Linked DNA regions of Homo sapiens: regions 1, 3 and 4 are each linked to region 2. The links are contacts of gene promoters, found by promoter capture Hi-C in blood cells and fetal thymus (Javierre and others, 2016). All regions are on one chromosome and are shown on one strand. The core of a region is centred on a gene start or on the middle of the fragment in contact, and the rest is flanking DNA. Distances in the headings are between cores, read along the strand shown. Region 1 overlaps NAPB (NSF attachment protein beta). Region 2 holds the start of ZNF133 (zinc finger protein 133). Region 3 holds the start of GZF1 (GDNF inducible zinc finger protein 1). Region 4 overlaps ANKEF1 (ankyrin repeat and EF-hand domain containing 1).

Region 1 (2,700 bases), core at 171-2,670, 5.1 Mb before region 2:
CTCCAGGGGCCTTGCGCCGAGTACACCTTTAGTAAATACTTGACTAATGAACGAATATATTTTCTCAGCATAGTATTTTTCCTTCTCCGGAGATTGATTGATAGCCAGAGCCTCCTGTTTGATTAACGGTAACGCTGCTGCTGTTTAAGTCAGGCGTCCTTTGGGAATCCCTTTAATTTCCTGTAATTCTTCCGTGCTCTCCTAAGGAGGATTTTAAATTCCAACCTCTCAAAAAGCAGAGCCCGCACTGACAGCCCGGAAGAATTCTGGGCTGTTGAATATGTGAATGATTCAGCTGTTTAGGATGAGAAAGGCAGAAATTTTGTGTGTGCCTGTTTCGTTGTTTTCTTTTGAAAGTGAAAGATCCTTTGCTGTTACCAAGAGCAGATACTTAACCCATTGCATGACTAGACACGATTTTATTTCTGTACACATTCAGTTCAGACTCTATTTCAGAAGACAGACATAATGGGCTCTTAGCTTGTTTTGCCAACTTCATTCTTTTGGCTATAAATTATAATACTTTACCGCTATTGATACGTCTTTAGGAAATGCTTAAGGACAAGTTGCATGCAGTACGCATAACTGCAGAAATGCATAAAGGCTGCAAAAATGCAAGAAGATAAGGGTCCCTGTCCTCAGGAACCTCTCAGAGGACGTTTATCACAGCTGGTTTCTAAATTTCTCATGTGATGTGTAGGAGATATAGCTATGAATTATGTTTTGTTTTGCATTTAAAAGTTATGACAGTACCATCAAGTGCTAGCGCCACACTAACTCCTTTTAAATGTTTTGATTCACAAAACATTTAAAATTCACTCTAATAAAATTTAATGTCATAGTACCTCATGCCAGGAGGTTATTTTAATGTTACAACATTATTTCAAGTCAGGAAGTGCTTCCCTGTGGGAGAGTCTGTAACTGGCAGAGGAAAAAGCTTGACAGCACTTGGTGCTTGTCTCAGGAGAACACTCCTTTTGGGAAAGAGGTTTTCGATGTTTTTAGGAAACTAGGCCAAATCTTGAGCTTATAATCCTTAAAGGATTTTGAAAAGCCTTTGTTTTTAAAGAAACATCTCCCTTTTAAATGTTGCTACCTATGTTATTGACAGGACATATAAGAAGACGAATCTTCACCATTCACACTCAGTTACACAAAAGTTAATGCATCTTAGTTCTTACCTGGGTACAACAGGTTGGTTTATTATCTAGCTTTGGGACCTAGGGCAAGTTACTTAGCCTCTCTGTGCTTCAGTTTCCAGTGTATAAAACGGAGACAATAATAGTATATCTCAAAATTTATGGGAGTTCAGTGAGGTTATGTTTATAAAACATTTGGAACCATGGATGTTGGAGACAGTGACCATGAGATATTAATTAGCATATTCATCAAAATTATCAGCTCCAGTTATTTATCAAAGAAGCAGTAGGCCAAACAGATAACTTTTCCAGAATTTCAGAGCCGTAGACTGCATCATTGATTTTTTTTTTTTGAGACGGAGTCTCACACTGTCACCCGGGCTGGATTGCAGTGGCGGGATGTCAACTAACTGCAACCTCCGCCTCCCAGGTTCAAGCGATTCTCCTGCCTCAGTCTCCTGAGTAGCTGGGATTACAGCCACCCGCCACCACGCCCGGCTAATTTTTTTTTTTTTTTTGTATTTTTAGTAGAGACGGGGTTTCACTGTGTTGGCCAGGCTGGTCTCGAATGCCTGACCTCGTGATCCACCTGCCTTGGCCTCCCAAAGTGCTGGGATTACAGACGTGAGCCAGCACGCCCAGCCTCATTGATCTTTTAATGAAATAAAATATCTGAAAGAGCTTTAACCATTAATGTACCATGCAAGTGTGATTTATACTTTGAAGACTGTTATTTCCAGTAATACTTGCTCCAGGAAAGCTTGCAGGAAGAAGAGTACTTAGAATTTTAGGAGTTTAGTAATATTGTATAATTACTGAAGCCAGAAAACAGACGTAGTGTTCCTGTGTCAGTAGGACAATTAAGATTCTGTATCAATTTTAGATGTTTAGAATCCTACCTTATAGATGGCATGTATCATCACCTTTCTAGACTGGAATACATGTTATTCCACCCTGCCCCTGCCTTCTTAGCTATAGAATGTCACCATTTTCATTCCTAAAGGTCTGCATGTAATCCTTTATTTAAAACGCAGAGTAATCCATCTCTATGTCAGACTCCAGAATTAATGTAATACAAAATTAATAAAACACACATACTGACTTGAATATCATCAGAGCTCATATATTTAAGAGCTGACTAGCTGGTGCTTTAAAGAGGATAAGCCATCTGTTTTCAGGTTGTGGCAGTCATTAAAAGCTGCTTGGCATATTGCAGATATTTCACATCACAGACATTCTGAATGCTCTATCTGCAGATTAAAGCCTGTCATGAGTTCTCTAGTGTTTACCACTCACAGTGGTTTTGTGGCAATACTGTATTCTTAGTAGTATTCTATAGCTTTTGTTTCTTGCTTTCAGTAAAATTAGATGAAAATATGCATATGTATTTATGAGAACATGTCAGTCAAATATTTCTTCTCTGTGTAAGGCACAAATCCTCTGCCTTATCTGCTTGATAGGTAAGGTATCAATATTCCTTTCCCATCCCCACCTTCCTCCCCAGGAAAAGAGCTGACAAGGGATGCAAACATTGCAGGAAACCACTGTTGTGGTGGTTTGT
Region 2 (2,700 bases), core at 63-2,562:
ACAGGTTGAAAGCACGACCTGCCCTGATATGCTGTTGACGCTGAGCATGAAGCGACCTTCTCTGTGCCTGTTATTAATGAAAGGTAATATTCACTGAACACTTAGTATACACCAGAGACTGTTACAGCCACTGTAGGAGTTTCACCTCATTCTATCCTTTCAACAACCCAATACGATAGATGCTATTATCCTCTTTAGGATAAAATCGAGGAAACTGAGGTACAGTGAAGTCAGCATCTTGCCCAAGGTGACACAGCTATAAAGTGACAGAGCCTAGAGGAAATGTGGCTGTGGAGACCGTGCTCTTACACAGTAAGGGCAGTGACGGTGAACTCTGGATTGCAAGGATTCTCTGTGTCCATTCTGAGATGAATCAAGATTGGTCATAAGGTTTTAAGTGTTGAATCTGGGTGATGGAGATCTGGTCTATAGAGTTCTATCTACTTCTGGCTGTTTGAAATTTCTCCGCAATAAAAACTTAAATGGAATGTAAAATCCCAAAGCCTGGCCACACCAGGGGCCTGGGAATCCGTAATTCTTGCGATCAATGACGGTCCCTGGGACCTTTGGAAAAAACCTGTCCTGTGCGTCCCAGCCAGACTTCCTCCTCCAACGCCCGAACCCGGGGGTGACCAACCAAAGTGAAACCCTAAGATCGCGGCAAAATGGCCACCCCAGATCCAGTCTAACCTTGGCTTGTTTGGTCAAGCCAGACCGCTCCTCATTCCACTCCAGCAAAGCCGAAGAATAGTGTGGCCCCAAGAGACTAGCCCTCAACCGACCAATGCCTCGGGGACACATGGCCCCAGGGATGGTTCCCATTCCACCACCTGGGAAATACCATTCCCCCAAAAAGCTTATTTATTCAACTCCCCCAAAACCGGGGACTTATGGCATCAGCGACTCCCTTTCCCAATACCCGACTTCAGCCAAAGCCGAACCTGTCCCCACCCACAAGAACCCTAGGAGAGAGAGCCCGATCCCCCACTCATCACCATCCAGTTTCACGGATGGGCTTCACCCAACTCCCCTGGAGATGCACGCCCACACCCCCAAAATAAGACATCTGGGAGAGGACGGCCTGCGCCACGCCAGCGCGTTCCCACCACAATCACCACCCCCGCGCCACCCGCACGGTCCCCAAATTCAGCCCATAGTCCAGCCTTTCGGGACCTTCCTTTTCGCGCAGAAAAGGGTACGGCTGCGGCAAGGGTCCCGCGGGAGCCTCACTCACCAGCGCCACCAAAGAACAAGGGGTCGCTCCAGCCACCAGCTGGGGAGCTCCTCCAGCGGGGCGCCAGGACTACACTACCCCGAATCCTCGGCACAGCGCCCGGACCACACCTCCCAGGATGCTCGGCGCCACCAGGCGCGCCCTGAAGGCCGGCAGCTCCCATTGGCCTCTGACGGATCCGTTTCTGAGTAACACGCTCCGGTCACCGGAGAATGGCCACTGTGGCACCTGAATTCTCCCTCTTTTTTCTTAACCACGTGCATAAAACACGTAGGAGCTCCCGAGAAGAGTGCCTGGCCCTACTGTGACCCTCCTTCTGAGCGCCTCTGTCTCGAAAACTACACTTCCCAGTGACCCCTGGAGCGACTTCCGCACCCGGTACCGGCCCCGCCCCTTGGCGCGCGGAAATGACGTTTCGGGGCGCATCTGTTCGGCTTCTGGGGTTGGCGGAGGTGTACCGCTGGCTGACCAAGCTTGTTCAGGTGCTGGTTTGTGTTGCAGCGGCCTGTGGTCTCCCTGGCTCCAGCCGCCTGCTTGGAAAGTCACGCCCCATATTCCTAAACACCGGGCGAACGTCATGTCGTATACCCTTTAGCTCCATTTAAAGCCTTGAAAAGGCCGAGCAGTCTGCCTGAAGTCTCACATCCCGTACGAGGTAGACCCGATTCTGAGCCCACGCCCTCAACCCGAATACACCTTTTCCGGTGCCCTGAGACCTTTTTCTTCTTTTTGAAATCCACGAAGTTATTGTTAAACTCTCATCTCCTGAGAAGCAGAAGCCTCAGTCTCGGGCCAGAGCTTGGCCTGCCGTCGGCTTGGATCTCTAGGTCTTTGTCCGGGATCCTGGTTGAGAACAAGATTGCGCTGGTGCCATCTGGGACGCCCCATCTGGGGAGCTCGAGGGGAAGGCCCACGTCACTCTTGAGAGGGCTTTTCCACCCGTGCACCCTCTCACTGCCCTTCACCTTCCTCAGATAGGCTTTCTGAAACTTTGTCATTCTCTTGGAAGACCAAGAAAATGACCACTGTCTGAAGGGCCAGGGAGATGAGAATTTCCTAAAATTCTTTTGTAGCTCTCAGAGGGTGAATCCATTCCCTTCTGGTACCCCGAGGCTACATTATTTATTGTGAATTCAGTTCAGTCCTGGCTCCGGAGACATGTCCAGTGTCAATTGGATTCATCCCTCAACATCATTCTCTGCCTCATGAGTCAGTCATCACCAAGAAATTAGTTGTTAATACACATAAAGGTTCAGAACAACAATGCAGGGATGCCTGTGTTCAAGTGTTCACTTGTGCTGGCTGTACAATAAAGACACAGATGGCTGACATCTCTTAAGCCTGGAAATGAAGACTTACAGGATGAGGTGCTGCCTGAGGAATTAGGCAAGATGAGGAGTTGGAAGAACACAGACGAGTAAGGAAGAGTGTAGGAAGTGTGAACAGAATCTCAGGGTCTGAGCCAC
Region 3 (2,700 bases), core at 156-2,655, 5.1 Mb before region 2:
TCTGCGGCCGGTGACAGCTGCGTATCCGCCGAATCTCATTGGCATTCCGGCCGCCTCCCAGTGCGCCCGGCATCTGCACCAACGTCGGCGGCCCCTGAATCCCCGAGGCTCACGGGGCCAGAGCCCTTCCAGGAGACGCTGCTACCCGCAGCCCAGTCCACGGCCACAAGGGCCGGGGTTTCCAGTGGGGCTTAAATCCGCCGCTGTCCTCGCCGCCCTCACGGCACCTCCCACCCTTCCCGCGCCACTTGGCCGCCCCAGCGCCCGGACGCCGCTCGGCCACTCCAAAGACGACCCAGAGAACAAACTACTGCAGCCACAGAGAAGCCCCTCCTCGGCCCGACGCGCCGCCTCCCGACGCGGGCATCCGGGGCCGCGTGGATCAGGCCCTCGGGCCGCCCCCTGCCCCCGCTCCCGCATCCCCGAGACGCGCAGGTCCACAGAGCAGCCGGGGCGCGCGGACAAAGAGGCGGCGGCGGGCGGCGAGGGGCCGGAGCCAGGCCTACGGGCCGCGCACTCACCTCCCAGCCGGCGCCCCCGCTGCAGCCGCTGTCCGCTGGACCAGGCCGGTAGGAACGGCCGGCCCGGCTGGGCGTGGCGTAGCACCCTGCGCGGGCACCGCCGATTGGTCGCTGCAGGCCCCTCCCCTCCCGCGGCCGGCCCCGCCCCTGGCGGGGCTGAGGAAGGGGCTGAGCCACACGTCGGGCGGCGGAGCGGTTCGGGCAGTTACCTGATCTGGCCGCGCGACTGACTGGCGACGCCGGATTGCGTCACCCGCCGCATTGCGTCACCCGCCGCGAGCCAAGGCCTGCGCCTGCGCAGGAGACAGCGACGTCTGCGCTGCGGCACGCCACAGGGGGGCGGGGCCAGTCGCGAAAAGTCACGTGAGCGTCAGATTCGCGTGGTCACTTTCGCGTCCATTCCGGGCTTCTGGCCGCAAGGCGCCAGCGCTTCCGGGCCCCAGCAGCCTGCGGTCAGGGCCTGCAGCTGGCTTCCCACTAAGAGCTGCTCACGTCCCCGAGGCCGAGCGCACCCTTAGGGCACGGTGGCCACGCGAGGGACCTCGCGGAAAGCCGGGCTTGGAGCTGGTACTCACCTTGGCTACTAGGGGCGCAGATGCCTCCACGGGCGCTGGAGAACTGGCGCCAGGCGGGGCTCGGCGCGGCGCTCTCCTCTGGGGCGCTTCTTCCGCGGTGCCCCCGCCCTGCTGGGGGGCTCGGCGCGCCAGGAGCCGGGACCGCACCCTGCCGTCTTTACTGCAGGGCTTTATTTCCAGGAGTTCCCATTCGGGCGAAAGCTTTGTTCACTACAGAACTTCCCCAGAGACCCATCCACTCTTCGGGGAAAGCACAATTGATTCCCTAAGATTCGCTGACTCCTCGAAATCTTGCTGTTTCCACCAATTCTTGCTCAATACTAACTAAAGCCCGCTTTGAAACACCTTCCTTGAGTCAGACTTCCAGTTCTCAATAAACTGACCTTGCCTTTTGCTCCCAGCCATTGGTAAAGCTTTGCCAGGTCATGCTGTCCCTTACTGTGGCCAGCAGTTAACTCAGCCTTGTCTTACCGACACGTTGAGTTTGTAATGTTTGGGGACTGTCAGGACAAATACAAATTTAAAATAAGGTTTACTACTTCCTGTTGAAAATATGAGATTTCCCTCCCTTTTTCTTCGAACATTTACTTTTAGAAAATTGGTAATTAGTGTAAGTACTTTTTCCTCTCTTTGAAATATATAAATCCTTTTGAAGACTAGTTAGGCCTTTTTGTGCGCTTTATAACCTAGATATGTCTTTTTCTAGGACCTAGGAGCCATCTCTTTAAGTATCAAGGGAGTTAATGCCCCTGTCTCCCAGTTTTAATGGGGGAGTAGGAGCCTAACTTCAGTGGGCCCTTTGCTCCAACTTACAAAATTATCTCATATCATAAAGATACAAGTTTCTTTTTCCTCTAGATAAAGCCAATTGGCTAACACAGAGGATCATCCCAAATATCAGGTTAGATGAACTGTGTGTGATGAAAAATGCTGCCAAGTTCCCTTGAGAGCTAGTTATTGTTTATCTTGAAAATGTGTGTAATAGATTGCTTGGCTGCACAAAAGAGTGAGATTTCGTTCTGTCTTTGCAGTCTCTTAATGGATTGCCTGTGATGGGTATCACATTCTAGTTTAATGCTTATTCAATTACAAAGTGTTTTCTTTCTCCACTACCTTTCTGAAGAGGGTTGGGAGATTGTACTTTTAATTATATTTCCTGAACAGGAGCCAGCTTCCCACACATAGTAGGTGCTCAATAAATATTTGAAGAATGAATGAGTGACAGAAATCTTTCTTAGGCCGACTCTCTATATTTGCATTCCATGATTTGAAGAAATTGGAATGAACGCAGTTTTCACCCATGGCTCCAGCAGGCCCAGAATCGTGTTTTATGATTTTGTTTTGCATTACAAAAAGGTGGTCAGGCACGGTGGCTCACGCCTGTAATCCCAGCACTTTGGGAGGCCGAGGCGGGCCGATCACTTGAGGTCAGGAGTTGAAGACCAGCCTGGCCAACATGGTGAAACCCCGTCTCTGCTAAAATACAAAAATTAGGCCAGGTGCGGTGGCTCACACCTGTAATTCTAGCACTTTGGGAGGCTGAAGTGGGCGGATCACCTGAGGTCAGGAGTTCAAGACCAGCCTGGACAACATGGTGAAACCCT
Region 4 (2,728 bases), core at 66-2,565, 8.3 Mb after region 2:
TTCTCTATCTGCTTCTTGTCTTTGTTCCGCACACATTGAAGAACTTTGTAGATCTGTAAGTTCTCAAGTCTCTTATCTGCTAAAGCCATGCTTGACCAGCTCCTTGAAAATGCTTTCTGGACCAAAACTAAAGCTGAAGCAACAAAAAAGAAAAATAACTCAAAGTTAATTTTATCATCTTCATTTTGATTAAATAACAATATTTTGGAACTTCCTTAAGAACAGAGATTGTTTTTTAAGAAATGTTCAGAAAGTAGGATTTATACATAAATATCAAAAATATTGAGTGGGCATAAAGTTAAAACAGTTCAAACAAATCTTCCATCATAATTAAAAATAGTTTGCCAGGTGGTTTTCTTATTATCCATTTAACCTTCCCTCCTCATCACACTTTACCATTTTACCATGAAGAAGCTGAGGTTAACTAAATTGCCATGGTAAGGGTTTGAGTTCCCACCATCTATCTACATGGTTTCACACCAGCAAAATAGAGAGATCATGCAGGTTTTAATAGTTTTAAGGTGTTATAAAAACATATAATTTTGAGGTGTTCATTATAAACAAATCTACTGGGCTCTGTAACATATCAGAGATGTGATGAGTGATTCCTATGTCATCTTAAGTGGAAAAGATGTAGTTAAATGGCTGCAAGGAAACTGCAAATCTTCATAAACAATCTCCCTGTTAAATTGTGATGGGCATTCTAGTATGTAATTTTACCTCCTTGTACGGAAAATCTTTTGGATTGAGTAGCAGGCCATGCTAGGTATGACCAGTTGTTTCTTCATTTCTTATGAGAAAAGAACTCCATTATCACATAGGGAATCCTATCCGGGTCGTTTGGATGGGGCTGTCCCTTCTGTCCCCTGCCAGAGGAAAGCGTCTGTGGCCTAGGCTTGGCCCATTTGAGGGAACCATCCCTTTCCAGGTACACTGAAGCTCAAGCATATGTGCATAAAAGACATCAACCAATCAGCAGCCCATCATCCAGAACTATGAGGGAAGACTATTCTGCTGAAGTTGTTAAGCAGTATGGTGTGGGGCTGGGGCGCAGGTAGCTCTCTTGGGTGCCACAGAGAGAGTCCATGCTTGGAGGATGGAGAGAGACTGAGATTGATGGCATTAGTTGCAACATGGATTCCATGGTGCCAGAAGCCATCTACCACTTTGTGGGTAAATACATCTTCTCCCCCGTCACCTTATTTTGGTATAAGCTAGTTAGCTAAGTTTCCAACATTTGCAATGAAAAGATTCCATCTTACTACAAAAGTTGAAACTATGCACCATTTTTCTCCATCGCAAGCCTGCTCCCTCACCTACATTCTCTACGGCAGTGAGCTCTCTCTCCTTTAAATGTGTCTCTCTAGGCACCACAACATCTCCATCGCCTGCTTCCATCCAACACCAATGCCCCCTCCTGCTCAGGCTCCTTTGCTGACTCCCCATTTCAAGAAGCCTATGTTGGGTGCCCAGGGCTAGGTCCTCAAGACTCTTTTCTGTCCTCACACACTCCCCTGGTGTCTCGCCCTATCCCATGACCCTCGACCCTCAGCCCAACTCTCACTCTGTCACCCAGGCTGGAGTGTAGTGGCACAATCTCGGCTCACTGCAACCTCCACCTCCTGGGTTCAAGCGATTCTCCTGCCTCAGCCTCCCGAGTAGCTGGGATTACAGGTGCCCACCACCACACCTGGCTAATTTTTGTATTTTTAGTAAAGACAGGGTTTCACCATGTTGGCCAGGCTGATCTTGAACTCTTGACCTCAGGTGATCCACCCGCCTCAGCCTCCCAAAGTGTTGGGACTACAGGCGTGAGCCACCGGGCCAGGCCTCCTTTGCCTTTTAATCTGTTTATAACATGCGGTGGACTAGGGAACCAACTGAGGCTGCCTCAGAGTCATCCACTTGGACTTTGCTGCACGGCTTGGTGACACTCACCTTAGCTGCTATTTATGGCTTGTTTTATTATTATCGGCCATATTCCGATTAGGTGCGGTGTCATCATACTGCATATGTATATGTGTCATCTATGGAATAGGGCAAGATGCTCCTACATAGGTAATGATTAGACTGAATCAATGCCACTTGATTTGTGAAAATAAGGATTTCCCAATCAGGGACTTCAATGTTGCCTCTGTTAGCACCCATCTCTAACGGAGAATTAATTAGCAGCTACAGTGATGAATTCAGTAGGTCCATGGGTCGGTTTCCTGTGGACTGCCTCCCTCCCAGCTAAAGCCCTGAAGTGCTGGGGAGAGGGCAGCACCCTGTATAGTGTCCTTCACAATCAACTGCTAAGACTGACCAAGAGCTCACCCCACTGCAGGAAATCACACAAGTGTAGCCCTTGGGTCCTGGGTTCCTTGTAAATTGAGCAGCATATAGGATCCTCCACATACAAGCACACCTGTACTTTTCCCCAGCATGACCCTGGGCCACCTTAGTCACATCTAACCATCTACCAAGGTAGTGGAATAGAGCAGAATGTCTTGACTTGAGGTCCATGTTCGGGGTCTGAATACTCGGAAATTACATGAAAATCTGTGGGAATCTGTGTGTGTTCAGGTCATTTAACTCTCAAAGGGGGGCTGTGCGACAAGGAAGGATCATTAGAAAGAGGAATGGAGGAAGACAAGCTTGGTACAGTGGAATGTAGGGTTTGAGGTGGGGAAATCCGTTGTGATCCTCCCTTCCCTGTATCATTATTTACACAAACTAGTTGGATATA

The links. The method cuts DNA at HindIII sites, captures the fragments that hold promoters and counts their contacts. A CHiCAGO score of 5 or more calls a contact.
Region 1: a fragment that was not itself captured here is called in contact with the fragment with the promoter of ZNF133 in region 2 in 3 of 17 cell types (total CD8 T cells, non-activated CD4 T cells and activated CD4 T cells); the score reaches 9.1 in total CD8 T cells.
Region 3: a fragment that was not itself captured here is called in contact with the fragment with the promoter of ZNF133 in region 2 in 2 of 17 cell types (naive CD8 T cells and naive CD4 T cells); the score reaches 13.0 in naive CD8 T cells.
Region 4: a fragment that was not itself captured here is called in contact with the fragment with the promoter of ZNF133 in region 2 in 2 of 17 cell types (total CD8 T cells and naive CD4 T cells); the score reaches 11.0 in total CD8 T cells.

What each region holds. Positions count from the first base shown.
Region 1 is chr20:23,417,739-23,420,438 of GRCh38, reverse strand. All of the region lies in intron 1 of NAPB (NSF attachment protein beta), which reads left to right. Among named protein-coding and RNA genes, the nearest start is that of NAPB, 2.4 kb to the left of the region's middle. The HindIII fragment of the contact is 962 bases long and covers 940-1,901 here.
Region 2 is chr20:18,287,139-18,289,838 of GRCh38, reverse strand. ZNF133 (zinc finger protein 133) reads right to left here and starts at 1,312. Exons shown (of 7, transcript NM_001352452.2): 1 at 1,235-1,312. RefSeq lists enhancers at 580-699, 1,260-1,599, 705-1,610, 1,690-1,739. The HindIII fragment of the contact is 851 bases long and covers 859-1,709 here.
Region 3 is chr20:23,360,059-23,362,758 of GRCh38, reverse strand. GZF1 (GDNF inducible zinc finger protein 1) reads right to left here and starts at 577. Exons shown (of 6, transcript NM_022482.5): 1 at 522-577. RefSeq lists silencers at 292-781, 1,202-1,291 and an enhancer at 852-1,111. The HindIII fragment of the contact is 212 bases long and covers 1,300-1,511 here.
Region 4 is chr20:10,035,663-10,038,390 of GRCh38, reverse strand. It overlaps ANKEF1 (ankyrin repeat and EF-hand domain containing 1), which reads right to left. Exons shown (of 11, transcript NM_022096.6): 3 at 1-133. The coding sequence starts at 89. The region is part of intron 3 of SNAP25-AS1 (SNAP25 antisense RNA 1); the gene reads left to right. Among named protein-coding and RNA genes, the nearest start is that of ANKEF1, 2.0 kb to the right of the region's middle. The HindIII fragment of the contact is 2,646 bases long and covers 1-2,638 here.